2 separate regions of the Homo sapiens genome follow, and region 1 is linked to region 2. The links are contacts of gene promoters, found by promoter capture Hi-C in blood cells and fetal thymus (Javierre and others, 2016). All regions are on one chromosome and are shown on one strand. The core of a region is centred on a gene start or on the middle of the fragment in contact, and the rest is flanking DNA. Distances in the headings are between cores, read along the strand shown. Region 1 has its middle 120 kb from the start of DPYD-AS1. Region 2 holds the start of DPYD (dihydropyrimidine dehydrogenase).

Region 1 (6,288 bases), core at 153-2,652, 950 kb before region 2:
ATACCCCTTTCTTGTCACAGAGAAGAGAACTTTGTTATTTTTGGCTTTCATTAGAGTTCTCACTTCAGAGTTGGTTAGTATGGGTTTCTGCTTTCCAAGCTGACATCTCTTTTCTATTTAGCATCTGTTACATAAACAGGGTGAATAGCTACACGGTTCCAAAATTGTGAGTGAAGCAGCTAACCCCCTTCTTCCTCACTAGCCAACATAACTGACAGCACTTAGCTCTCTCCATCCCTGCTGTCTTAGCTCTGAAGGGACTCCGTAGCACTGCCTGCCTGACTCCGCGCCACTGACGGCAGGCAGTGTTGTTGGGAAGAGAGCAAAGGCAGGGAGTCTGGTGGTGTGACGATGAAGATAATAAAGGAAATTATTAATGCGTCTACAGTATTTTTTGCATATTTATCTTACTGATCCTCACACCATCCCTCTGAGAAACATGTTATTATTATTACCTCACATTTTTAGTATTCTGTGTACATATTTTTAAGTTCTATGTACATATTTGTAAAAAAAATTTAAGTAAAGCAGGAGAGAAGAAATACTCTAGATAGGAGAATTTTTTTTTCCACTCTTTTGCAGACAGTGTTAAGGCAGGGGTTGGGCAAATCAAAATGCCTTAAACACAGAGGAAAATATTTATCTTACGCAACAAGAAGCTTAACATAGGCAGTCCAGGGCACAATGATGTCCTCAGTACTAAGCACTAGCTGTCATATTTCTGCTCTGCTGTCCTCATAGGGCACTGATTCATCCTCAGCTTGGGTGTTCATAGTCATAAGTTGGCTGCTGCTCTTCGGGGGTCGCAGTCACGTTGTCACATAACACAGGTTCTAGCACAGGCTCTTGAAGATAGCAAAGACCAAAGAAGTCTTGTGTGTCAAATTGAACTGCACCACCTCTGAGTTCCAGGGTTGGTTTAATTCTCTGGCTCCACATAGAAGCAAGATGGCTCTAGTCTTTCCTGCCACTCAGATGCAAGCACATCATAAAACAAATGAACAAACAAATCAAAAATTCCATGAGGCTCAGAGACTTTAAATAATTTGTTCCTGGATTTTGAGGCATGTATGGAATATGGTGCCCCTTGTTCTGTCTCCAAGTACGGTGCTCTGCCGTGAAAGGTGTTTGGGTTAAGAGAAGGCAGCTCTCTCAGGTATCTGCCGATTTGCACAGGCTTCTTTGTACACAATAGGCACTCAGCATCCACTGATTTGATTTTAGGCTTAAAAATGAAATTAAAATGGAGCTACCTTGGGCTGTTTGGCTTTGTTCTCTCTCTGGCATTTTCCTGTGTTAAGTTTAATTGCATTTGAACCAGACTCCACTGTTCTGGTTCAGGACAATGTCCAGAACCCAGACAGCTTTTTCTGATCTGTTTAACTCTCTGCTAACATCCACACAGATGGAGAAAATCAGAATCAGTGGACTCATTCTATTGTTTCAGGATCCTGGACCCCCTCTGTAATCAGCCAATTCATCTACCCTTTTTGAGCACCTCCACAGTACTACTCCATTCTAGCTGCTTCAAAGTATACAAGATGTAGTGCTTTTTGTCCATGTACTTACAGTGTATTTGGAGAAACATGTCAAGTACATGTGAACAATTTGCTAACTAACAATTTTAAGGTGCATTATATGCATCAGATAAATAAGCTCTATGGGAAGTCCAGTGCACAAATAGACATAAGATGTGGGCTGGCCCTTGGCAGATGAACCGGTCACAAGAAGCTCTACTCAAATTTTATGAACATGGGGTTTCTCAGATACCTGCCTGCTGCACCACCTGGTGAGAATGGAATTGAGGCAAACCTAGGGCCTGGAAAATTAGGGCAATTGCTTAGGGCTATGAACTCTATGCAGTGGGAGAGCGATTCAGAGAGTCAGTCTTGAGGGGCAAAGGAGGATTTCTATTTAGGTAGATTTAACTAAGACATAAAGTTTGAGGGATATTTTCAAACAAAGAATCAACCAGTATATGTACTCATTATGCCCAACACAGAGCCCCCCTCAGGCAACACAGCCCTCTTTGTGACTTAATTAATAAACCTGATTTTACTTGCCTATAAATCTTACCAGGAGTAGGGGGTCATTGGACTTGACAGCAAGAATTTTCTGTTTTGTTACTGTTTCTGCACAGCCTCTGAAGCTTGGATTAGAAAGAGAGGTGCCGATTTGGAAGTCAACAACACAGAGGTGGCTATTAACACCAGAAGAGTAGATGAGCCATGAAGGCAAGAAATTCCATACAGAGGGGAAGGCTAGAGATAGAACCTAGAGGATCGCCAACCACAGTTCCTCTTAACCACAGACATGACTGTGGTCTTTGATGCTTCATTTGTAGAGTAAGGACAATGATAGTATCTACCCCATAGAGCTATTTGAAGGTTTAGTGAGTTAATAAATGCAAAGCACTGGACAATTGCTTCATAGATAGACAACACTCAATACTGTTATCAAGATGAATCAAATTCTCACTCCCCCTCTCCCATTCTCCTCTCTCTGCACTTTTCTCCTGTGCCCATGAAACTGCCCTCCTGCCTGTAAACCTTCGCCGGATGTTTAGAACCCTCTGCCAAACATTTCTTGAGTGATGGGTGGACCTCCAGGCCTTTTTCTTTACTTTCCACAATCAAAATTTAACTGTTTCATTTTAAATTCCACCAACTCTACCATGGGTGTTAGCATTTTAACCAGACAATGCCTTCATGTGAAAGAATGTCTGTATTGCTGAGATTTTGGTCTCTAACAGTGATTTCTAGATACAGGGCTCTCTTTGTACACCCTCCTCAAAACACACTTGTAAGCAACCTCCTACTCGTGAGACCTCGAAAGTGGGAAAGGAGACAGCAGTAAGGACGATACAGAAATAGGCACAGAGAAACCAGCAGGTACCAAGGATGTCATCAAGCAATTTCCACAGAAAGCAAGCATGGATTAAAAGAGAGAAGCCAACAAATTTGTGGTCATTTGAAGCCTAAAGACACATTTTAAAACATTTCTTAATTTCTTTAAGTTTCTATCTTTTTTCCTCCTATGGAAGAAATCTACCCAATATAACATAAACCACTAATACTGTTCTCTAGGCAGAACATAGTTCCGTGAGCCAATGCAGGCTGGTTTCAGGGAAACTAACAACATTATTGATTTTAGTCAGGCTTATTAGAATCAGTGTTACATGCCCTTTTCCTCTACCAGATTGTATTTGGACTTCATTATGAAATCTCATTACATTAAGAGGAGGCTGCGATGAGTTCTGTAAATAAAAAATTTCCAAAGATGGATTTGTTAAAATTAGTATATCTGTGAAATCTGCTTTGGGTATCAATCTGTCAAGAAAGGGAATCATATATTTTCTGATTAGACCTTGCTTTTTAAAAAATATTGGGAATATTCACCAATTCTAGCAGCATACAGGAAAGCTTCCCTTGTTTTCCTGTTAGGAACTCCTGTGCAACATATTGTCACAGAACCTGGGTGAGACATCGCATCACATAATGATTACAGACAGCTTGAAGGGATGAACATGGCTTTTTCCTCTCCATGCAGCTCAGTAACACAATAGGCTCGTGAATCCCAAACTGAGAGCTATGAAAATGGAGTCAAGTCTGTAGCTGGCAATGCCTGGGATTTTTAGTGCAGGAATACGGAGGACTAAAAGAGATTCGAAACACCCAACCCTTCCATTTCTGCTTCAATATGTGGCGTATCATTTGGATTAGGCAACTTAAGTGAATTGATAAAATTGATGAAAATGAACTGATAGAGGAAATTACTTTTCCAAAACAAACAATTGCAATATGTACTTTTCTCTTAGACACTCACTCCTGTGTCTGTTTATTCAGTATCTGCACGCACAACCTTGTAAATACTGAAGAAAATGATGAAAACTGTTTAGTCAGACAGCTTAGTGCTTTCTCGTCCAAAATTATAACCACAAACTCAACACCAAACCAAGTAGTGTGGTTTCACTGAGAACTGAGAGAGCAGTTGTGGGATTTTCATTTAAGAGGCAGGGAATGATAAGGCATTAGAGTGAACAAGTGCTGTCGCAAACCTCTTCCCTGCATCTCTCTATCTGCTGCCCTGGTAGAACCCTGTATCCCCTTGATCCCAGAATGCTTCCCTCCCTCCCTCCCACCCAGGTGACATTTAAGACCTCTCTTGTTAGCCCAGTGCTGTGGCTTATGCCTGTAATCCCAGCACTTTGGGAGGCCGAGGCAGGTAGATCACCTCAGGTCAAGAGTTCGAGACCAGCCTGACCAACATGGCGAAACCCTGTCTCTATTAAAAATACAAAAAATTGGCTGGGTGTGGTGGTTCACACCTGTAATCCCAGAACTTTGGGAGGCTGAGACGGGTGGATTACCTGAGGTCAGGAGTTCAAGACCAGCCTGACTTACAAGGTGAAACCCCATCTCTACTTAAAAAAAAAAATAGCAAGAATTAACTGGGTATGGCAGTGGACGCCTGTAATCCCAGCTGCTCAGGAGGCTGAGGCAGGAGAATTGCTTTAACCCAGGAGGCAGAGGTTGCAGTGAGCCAAGATCGTGCCACTGCACTCCAGTGGGGGCAACAAAAGCAAAGCTCCATCTCAAAAAAAAAAAAAAAAAAAAAAGATCCAGGTGTGGTGGCAGGCGCCTGTAATCTCAGCTACTTGGGATGCTGAGGCAGGAGAATTGCTTGAACCCTGCAGAAGTTGCAGTAAGCTAATCACACCACTGCACTCCAGCCTGGGCAACAGAGTGAGGCTCTGTCTCAAACAAAAACAAAAACAAAACCAAACACAAACAAACAAAAAAACCTCTCTTGTTCAGGGCATTGTTACAATTTATTGGATTCATTCTGATAAGGGAGAAAGACCTAAGCATGGAGATACAGAGTAGAATATTACAGTGTGGGAGAGTCACACAGACAGGTTGGGAGAACTCTCAGGACTCAGATCTCCTGGTGCAGGGTAGGAGTTGCAGTGACAGGTTGATTTCTCCCATCTCTTCCGACATGGGTTTCCCCATGTGCCACTCCCTGTAGATTAGTAGTGGGGTCACGAATATACTCAAACCACACTAGCATGCTGGGACAATGTGTGTCTTTGTGTTCTGTAATTGATCTGAGTCTCCTTTATGAGCCCCCTCTCTCCTGAATACTTCAAGTTGCCAGTTAGCAAGATATCAGTCACCTCTGCTTTAACCAGTCTCACTTCAGCCTCTGGTTCATCCATCTGGCCTCTTCCCAGGGCTGCCTCTGTGCTACTGATCCTGCACCATGGGGAATTGGCTTGGTTCCAAAGGCTGAGGATGTCCTAGGGACCTGGAGTCTCAAATAGCATGCTGGCACTTGTCCCAGCATTCCTGAGTTCCCCGATGACTGTAAGTTTTAAGTTATCATCCCCTCTTGGGATATGACTCCATGACAGGAAGGGGGCAGAGAAGGAGAGTTGTCTGCATATCTAGATGCACTTGCACTCTCTACCTTTGCTTCTTTTCTTCCTGCTATGCCTCACTGCTGGAAATATTGGGCTTTTATTTTACTCATTCGTCCTATTTGATAGGGACTTTTCCTATATCCTGCATTCTCCTTGTAGACCCCAGCATCATAACCTCATTCCCAGTGATATTTTTTGGATATTTGTCCCCTTTATATCTCACGTTGAATTATAATCCTCAGTGCTGGAGGTGAGGCCTTGTGGGAGATGTTTGGATCATGGGAGCAGGTCCCTCATGGCTTGGTGGTGTCTTTGTGATCCAGAACTCTGGATCTTGAAGATAGTGAGTTCTGACAATCTGGTCATTTGAAAGTGTGTGGCATCTCCCCCTGCACTCTCTCTCTCACTTGTTCCTCCTTTTGCCATGTAAAGTACCTGCTATTGCTTCACCTTCCATTTTGATTGCAAGCTCCCTGAGGCTTTGCCAGAAGCTGAACTAATGCCAGCACTGTTTCCTTTCAAGCCTGCAGAACTGTGAGCCAATTAAATCTCTTTTCTTTATAAATTACCCAGTCTCAGGTATTTCTTTATAACAATGTAAGAACAGCCTAATACATCCGAACATCATTAAGATTTAAAGAGAGAAACCAATTCACCAGTAGAAGATTATAATTCAGCAGGTATTTCAAGGACATTAAACTCATTGTCCATTATGATTTTCGTAGGGGTGAAACTTGAATGGAATTATAAAATATAGGGGCTTTGTCTTTCCCATACAAGCCTTCTTCAGGATACAGTTGGCCCCCTGTATCTTCAGGTTCTGAACCAAAATTGGTGAATAATAAGAGCCAACTAAAGAACTT
Region 2 (6,929 bases), core at 4,087-6,586:
TTAAGGTGGAATATAAACAAAATAAAATTTTCTTTACAGTTTTAAGGACTGAAGGGCTCTGCAACATATTTGTCATGCATTCATACAGCTGAGAGGCAGAAAAATAAATTGGCCAATCCTCCATTTTGATCTCCTCTTTAGCTGTATTGAAGCCTGGATTATATCAAATCTCATCAGATTTTCTTTGTCATGATATTTTACGACAATCTTTTTTCAGTCTCATTGTCTTCTAGTTTTAGTGTTCCAAACTATTACTTACATTTACGCTAATTATTAGAATTCTCCCACAGTGATCAGACATCTTTATTTTACTAGGGGTTCCAGCTTTCAGCCCTTGTGTTGTTGCCAGTTTATACAGAGTTTGGTAAGATGCTGTATTCAAATAGTTAAAGAAAGGTATGATTGCTTAAAGATCTTCCATAACTGAATCAGTATTTTGACTCTAGATCTTCTTAGTGTCCTTATCAATTCCTTACTGTTAATATTCATCTTTTTTTATTATTATACTTTAAGTTTTAGGGTACATGTGTACAACGTGCAGGTTAGTTACATATATATACATGTGCCATGTTGGTGTGCTGCACCCAGTAACTCGTCATTTAACATTAGGTATATCTCCAAATGCTATCCCTCCTCCCGACCCCACAACAGGCCCCGGTGTGTGATGTTCCCCTTCCTGTGTTCATGTGTTCTTATTGCTCAATTCCCACCTATGAGTGAGAACATGCGGTGTTTGGTTTTTTGTCCTTGTGATAGTTTGCTGAGAATGATGGTTTCCAGCTTCATCCATGTCCCTACAAAGGATATGAACTCATAATCTTTTTAAAAGTGAATTTTTCTTCTAGAATGTAACAAAGGAGGCTACCAAATTCCAGCACACTTTACAATTAAGCAATCAGTCAACACCATTTGCTATCATTAAGATTAAGCAGATCCAATCTAAAAATCACCCTCCATCAAGATCCATCATTAGTCATTAATCTCCCAGATTTTAATTAAACTACCAAAACTATTCATCTGAATTCATATGCAAAGGATAGAATTTTTCTTTAAACTGCCCACAACTTTGGTGGGCCAAGCTGAAAGGTTCGCTTGAGCCCAAGAGTACAAGGCCAGCCCGGGCAATATACTGAGACCCCCATCTCTATTTTAAAAAACTGCACTGAAACACATATCAACACACTCAACTACAGAAATATGCAGTACCTTAAAACTACAGGAAGCTACCATTAGAATCAGTGACTCCTCAAATCAGATAATCAGACACATTTCTACTATCCAGCTAAACTCCTTAGAAAGGAGAAACACTTTAAAGTAAAACTATGGCCCACAAAACAGCTTAAAGTAGGAAGTACAAGCATGTTTTCAACAACTCTAACTCACAAAATAGTTTTAAAAAGTTAAAGCTTTAAAAGTCTTAATTTATTTAAGAATATATTTCCAAAAGATCTGCAGTGCCCAGTCAATAAAAGGAAGGAGAAAAGAAATGACTGATGCTTACACATTCAGTAAAAATATATCCATTTAAATCAATAAACAACTCATGGCTTTGTATAAAGTGGAATCTTTATTATCTTTTTTGGATCCATGATTCTCCTTCCTCCCCAGCAGCAAAGGCAATTATGATAAAAGATGTTCTGAAAATTTTTTTGCCATCTCTGCCAATTTATAACCCATGACTTTCCTTGTTTCAAAATTTGTAAAGTCCACTTTCTCCAAGTCTTTCCCATTATGCTTCTATTTTCCAAATTCGCTATTTTTAATCTCATTTTCCTAGTTAATCATACAGAAAATTCCCAATTACCTTTTCAAATGAATAGAAGTCACAGTATCAGTAATTCCGAAACCATTTCTGTTTGACTTAAAATGCATTTGATTTTGTGGACAATGGACTAAAATCCCTTTTTCATTTAGGGTAAATGTGAATTAAGTTTATAACCCTTTAACATTCACTAACTGATCATTCAAGGAATGGGCCTTGTGATTGTGACTGTGGTAGCAGTACAGTAACAGATAGCAACTTGGTTTGGCTACAAATATATATCAAAAGTACTAGTATTCAAATAGTTAAAAGCTTGCTGCAGCTGCATACATTTCGTTTAGATATATATACTTTCAAAGTCTATTCTCATTATCCTTGCCGGTGGAGGGGAACAAGGTCTTGAACAAAAGAGTACTGTTTCAAAATAATTCTCATTTCCTTTCAAGTGTGCAGATATTCACAATATACTGGCTGTAAATTCAATCTAAATGAAGAAGTGCTGTTAAGTTACTGCTGAGGCCTGGGAAAGTGACCAATGTCCAATACTAACCTTCTTTGAAACCATCCCAGGAGAGTTTGTATTAAAGTCATCGTTGACAAAATTCAGACTGTATCCAAACAGTACACTCACAAAGCAAAATAACTTCTAAAAGCATATAACTACTATTAACGGACTTTAAAATGCTAATCATTTCATTGGAAGTGATTTTCCTGAGAATAAGATATATTTTTCTGTTATCTTTATTTTTTAACATTTTTGTCCTTTTTCCCAACAAGATGCTGTCAACTTGTGACATTTGTTTATTATCCTTAGCAGATTTTCCATGTGCAATTCAGAGAGGCTAACTTGCCCAAACACACAGCTTAAAGTTAGACCTCAATCAGAGGCAGTTGGTTTCAGAAGCCAGGCTCTGAACCACATTAATATATCTGAAAAAAAACATGATTTCTCATGCAACTTCTATGATTACAACAACAACAACAACAATTCTGAGTAATGAGCTAGGTCCTATTACCAAGTAACACATCCTTTCCTTGCCTATCTCCCAGCCCAGGGATATTCCAGCTATGGAGTTTGGTGATCTGATTGTTTTCCATGTTCCTAACCGTCAAATCCTGATGTGATATTGGATTCAGACTAGAAATTATGAAGCAGGCACACAAAGCACCTTTATATATACCTCAATAACTTTTCCCCCAGAAACAAAGATATTTCTTGGCTGTTTCACTGAAACCTGAGGTTCTGTAGTTAGCTCATAGGGAAAAGTCAGTCACTATTAGAGTAGGTTGTTATCATCACCTTCTGTTCTTTTAACAATTGTCAAGTACTTTTCACATTTATCAATGTGTTCTTATCACATTCATTAACTGCTTCATACCAATATTTTTAAAATATTACTTGCTTATCCATGTATTTGAAGCTAAAACAATGATCACAATCAGATCTCTAGACAATGGTTGTAATGAATTTGTTCAAGAAAAGCATTCAAATTTGATGGAAAACTGAGCCTTTATAATTCATTCTAATTCTTCAACACAAAAATGAACTTTGGTAAATCAATAGGATCAACTGAGGCATTTATGCTTGAATGTGCTCCCCTAAGCTTAATGTATTTTTCCTCACTGCATTATATTTTAATGATTAATTTCATGCTCTTTCATGGTATTCTAGCTCATGAATCACGGGTATTACTTTGAGGGAAAAGTAAGGTGCTGTGAGTGATGAAAGATGTTACTGATTAAAGTGTTGCACATATGAACTACATAAGAGCTGAAGGTGTTTGAACACCAGCAATCTAGATTAAAAGTAATATTAGGCAAACTGGCCATATAGACTAAGGTTGAATTGAGTGGAGGGAGTGGGAAGGATGGGCTTCTTAAATGTTCTTAGTTGAAACAATATATGAAATCAAGCTTGGCATTCAATGTTTCACTGGCATCTTTCTCCTCAGTAGAATGTAAGAACTGATTTCGAAGACAACTGCAGAGAAAGAAATCAGTTAAGCAGATAACACACCATTCTGAAATTAAAGAGCCAAAAGCCACCCATCCTAAGTCAACTCCGATATCTTAAATCAATACTGCCTTAATACTGTCAGAAGCTTGTTTTTCGACTTAGTAAATAAAATTTTTTAAAAAGTTAAGTCAAAGTCACAAGGACCAAAAAGGAATAGACTACCCTAAATGAAATATAGAAAAAGACAAGTATCTATTATCCTGCACACAGATGAACAACTATTTGTTAAATATATCATATTGCTCAATATCAAAAAGTCAACTCTCCAAAACAGAAACCAAAAGTAAACTAACCAGAGATGTCCACATAATACACTTTGGCTCTTGTTACTAAAATGATTTTTCAAACCAAGTTATGGAGCCTGGAGAAAACAGGACTACTTCCTCCCAGAATATAAAGTTTCTTCAATTACGGAGGCAAAATGTGGCAAAAGCAGCTATTTTGCAAACAGGTGGTTTGCAAAACTTTTACTTAAGCCGCCAAAAGGACTGACGAAAGGAAAATTTTGTTATTTCTAAAGAAAACACACACACACATAATTTTCTACCAGAGTAGAAGACTCAAATAAAGAAAAGCCCCAAACAAAACAGAAAACTAAAAATCAGTTTGTCTTAGCTCAAAAGTGCTGACCTAGGTTTAGTATGTGTAAAATCACTGTTGATAATTAAATCCTTTTCATCGCATATATTAAGATACTAGAGAGAAAGGAAATGCCATGTCGTTTCAGGTAGGACCTTATTTACATAAAAAAAGATTTTTTTTAACAGAAACGGAGTGCAAGAGGGAATCAAAAACCGTTGAGAGGAGAGAAAAATACAGTTAGTTTTTCTGAGGGCACTGCATTTTTCATGTTCTGAATACTTCGTTCCATTCTCTCCATGTTAAATTATTTCATAAACAATACTATGACTAGAGGCGACTGCTACAGCTGACACACAGATGTTTTATTTCTATGCTTCACCTTTGCAAATAGCAGGATTCAGCTATTGGAAATGGGGGCAGTGGAGGTGTCCAGAAACGACATACAGGAGGTGAAGGGGTAGAACGTGTGGGAAATGGGCACTCCTACCCCCTAGAGTCCACCTCTCTGGAACTCCAGTGCTTCTTCAGTCACTGACATTCAGAGGAGGACAAGACAGGCTTCCTGAAATCTCTTCCGAAGTAAACAGGTCCCGACGCAAAGGGCAACCCCTCCAGTAGCGGAAAGTCCTCCCCTGAGCTCCCCGCCTGCCCACGCGGGCCTGTGGCTCCGCGCTCCTCCGCTCCCCCGCAGAGCTCCCACGGGGGAAACTTTCCCGCGTCTCTCACTCTCCGGGGTGCGGGGGCCGCGGGGGCCTCCCCGGCACCTACCCGCAGAGCACTCCCCACCACCCCGCCACCACCGACGAGCCGGCGCGAAGTCCGTACCTCGATGTCCGCCGAGTCCTTACTGAGCACAGGGGCCATGGCAGTGCCTACAGTCTCGAGTCTGCCAGTGACAAACCCTCCTTGCGTCCTCAAGCTCCAGCCAGAGAGCCAAGTGACAGCAGCCGGAGCGCGAGTCGAAAACAGGCAGACTAGGGCCGGCGGCGCGGGGGCGGAGCGGGCGCGGGGCGGCAACGCCCCCGGGGCGGGGCTGCGCTCTCGGTCCTGCGGCTCCCGCGCCAGGCACGGCAGCCGCAGCCCGGCCTTCCCAGTTCAGCCCGCTCCGCGCCCCAGCCTGCAAGCAGAAGGGAGGGAGGGAGTAGAGCACCCGCTCTGGGGACTGGCCTTTAATCTCTAAACTGCTAAAAACAGAGCTAGGCAGGCGGGGCCAGATAGGAGGGATCCCCAGGCAAAGGTAAAAGCAGTCCGCGCTCCAAGCAACAACTTGCACTTTTTCTTTTCTTCCACAGAAACCCCGCGAGATGTAGATACATTGTTTGAGGGGCAACTGCATTTTCAGGAACTCCTCAAGGATGAAATAGTAGATGTTCCTCCATCCATCCACCAAGTAGGTGGGCGGGGTTTGAGCTGCAGTGGAGGATACCAAAGCACCGGTCTTCTGAGAGTTCACAGCCCCAGCGGGGAGGGGAGGGAGGCGAGCAAAAACATCCACAGCCCGCAGCAGCATACAGGAAGTGCTGCAGGTGGTACATAATCAAGGTTGTCTTTTTGCAGGAAAGTCTCATTTTAATGGTTATTTTTTTAAATATTTTTTATTCTAAAACGTGAAACTCTTTTGAAAAGTTGCTCTTCGTTTTTGCTCTAGAGCTTGCTGAGGAGAAGGGAGAGATTTCCTGTAGAGTTGGTCCCAATCCAGAAAACATTCACCTCGTTTTTTGAGGATATGTGTACTCCAGACCTCTCTCCTTTTCTCCCCGCCCCCCCCCCACCCCTGTTAGATGCATCCCACCTCTCTTCTACCATAACACTTTCTACTTCCGTTAGGACATTTGCGGCACTCCTTCATGCACTTGGCTAGGTAGTGACACCTTGGAGTCAAGTATTTCTCCCTTATTATTTTTTCATTAGTCCATTCATCGTTTTATTCAACGAATATGTTTATTGAGCATTTTCAATATGCCAGACACAGACACTGTGCTAGGTTCTCCGGATATAGTCTTCAAGAATACACATCACTGTCATGGAGATTATACTCAAAATAAGCAAGTAAGAAAATGTGATGCCTGCTTGTAAGATAAAAGAAAAATAGGACAGAATAACTAGGGTATGGGTACCTTGCGTGGTTGAGAAGGCTTCTCTGAACAAACCATCAGATTACCTTCCAGAACCTGGAAATTACTAAAAGACAGATACATTTTTCTTGAATCAAATATTAACAGACACTAGAAAGTTAAATGGAAACCTTAGAATCATCTTTGACTCCTTTATCCTTATTGCCTCATTTAATCTATGCCCAAACTCTCAGAAGTCAACCTCCTAAATAGATTTTGAATCATTCATTTCTCCATTTTGCTGCATCCACCATGGTCCAAGCTACTGGTATTCTAGCTTCTATTCTTACCTCATATCCATACCAGATTGAGCTTTAGAAAGTATTAACTGGCTCATGCCATACAACGATACATCCACACACCCAGGTACCCATGGTATAAATCCTTCAATGGTCCATTGCAGTCAGAATATAATACAAACTCCCTAGTAACCGCTGAATAACCTGCTCTACTC

What was found. Contacts are between HindIII fragments. The CHiCAGO score rates a contact against its expected background, and 5 or more counts as called.
Region 1: a contact is called between a fragment that was not itself captured here and the fragment with the promoter of DPYD in region 2, in 1 of 17 cell types (erythroblasts). The highest score is 6.4, in erythroblasts.

What each region holds. Positions count from the first base shown.
Region 1 is chr1:96,968,504-96,974,791 of GRCh38, forward strand. No RefSeq gene overlaps it. Among named protein-coding and RNA genes, the nearest start is that of DPYD-AS1, 120 kb to the right of the region's middle. The HindIII fragment of the contact is 1,490 bases long and covers 658-2,147 here.
Region 2 is chr1:97,915,698-97,922,626 of GRCh38, forward strand. It overlaps DPYD (dihydropyrimidine dehydrogenase), which reads right to left and starts at 5,337. Exons shown (of 23, transcript NM_000110.4): 1 at 5,187-5,337. The coding sequence starts at 5,225. RefSeq lists a silencer at 5,143-5,542. The HindIII fragment of the contact is 4,374 bases long and covers 3,863-6,929 here.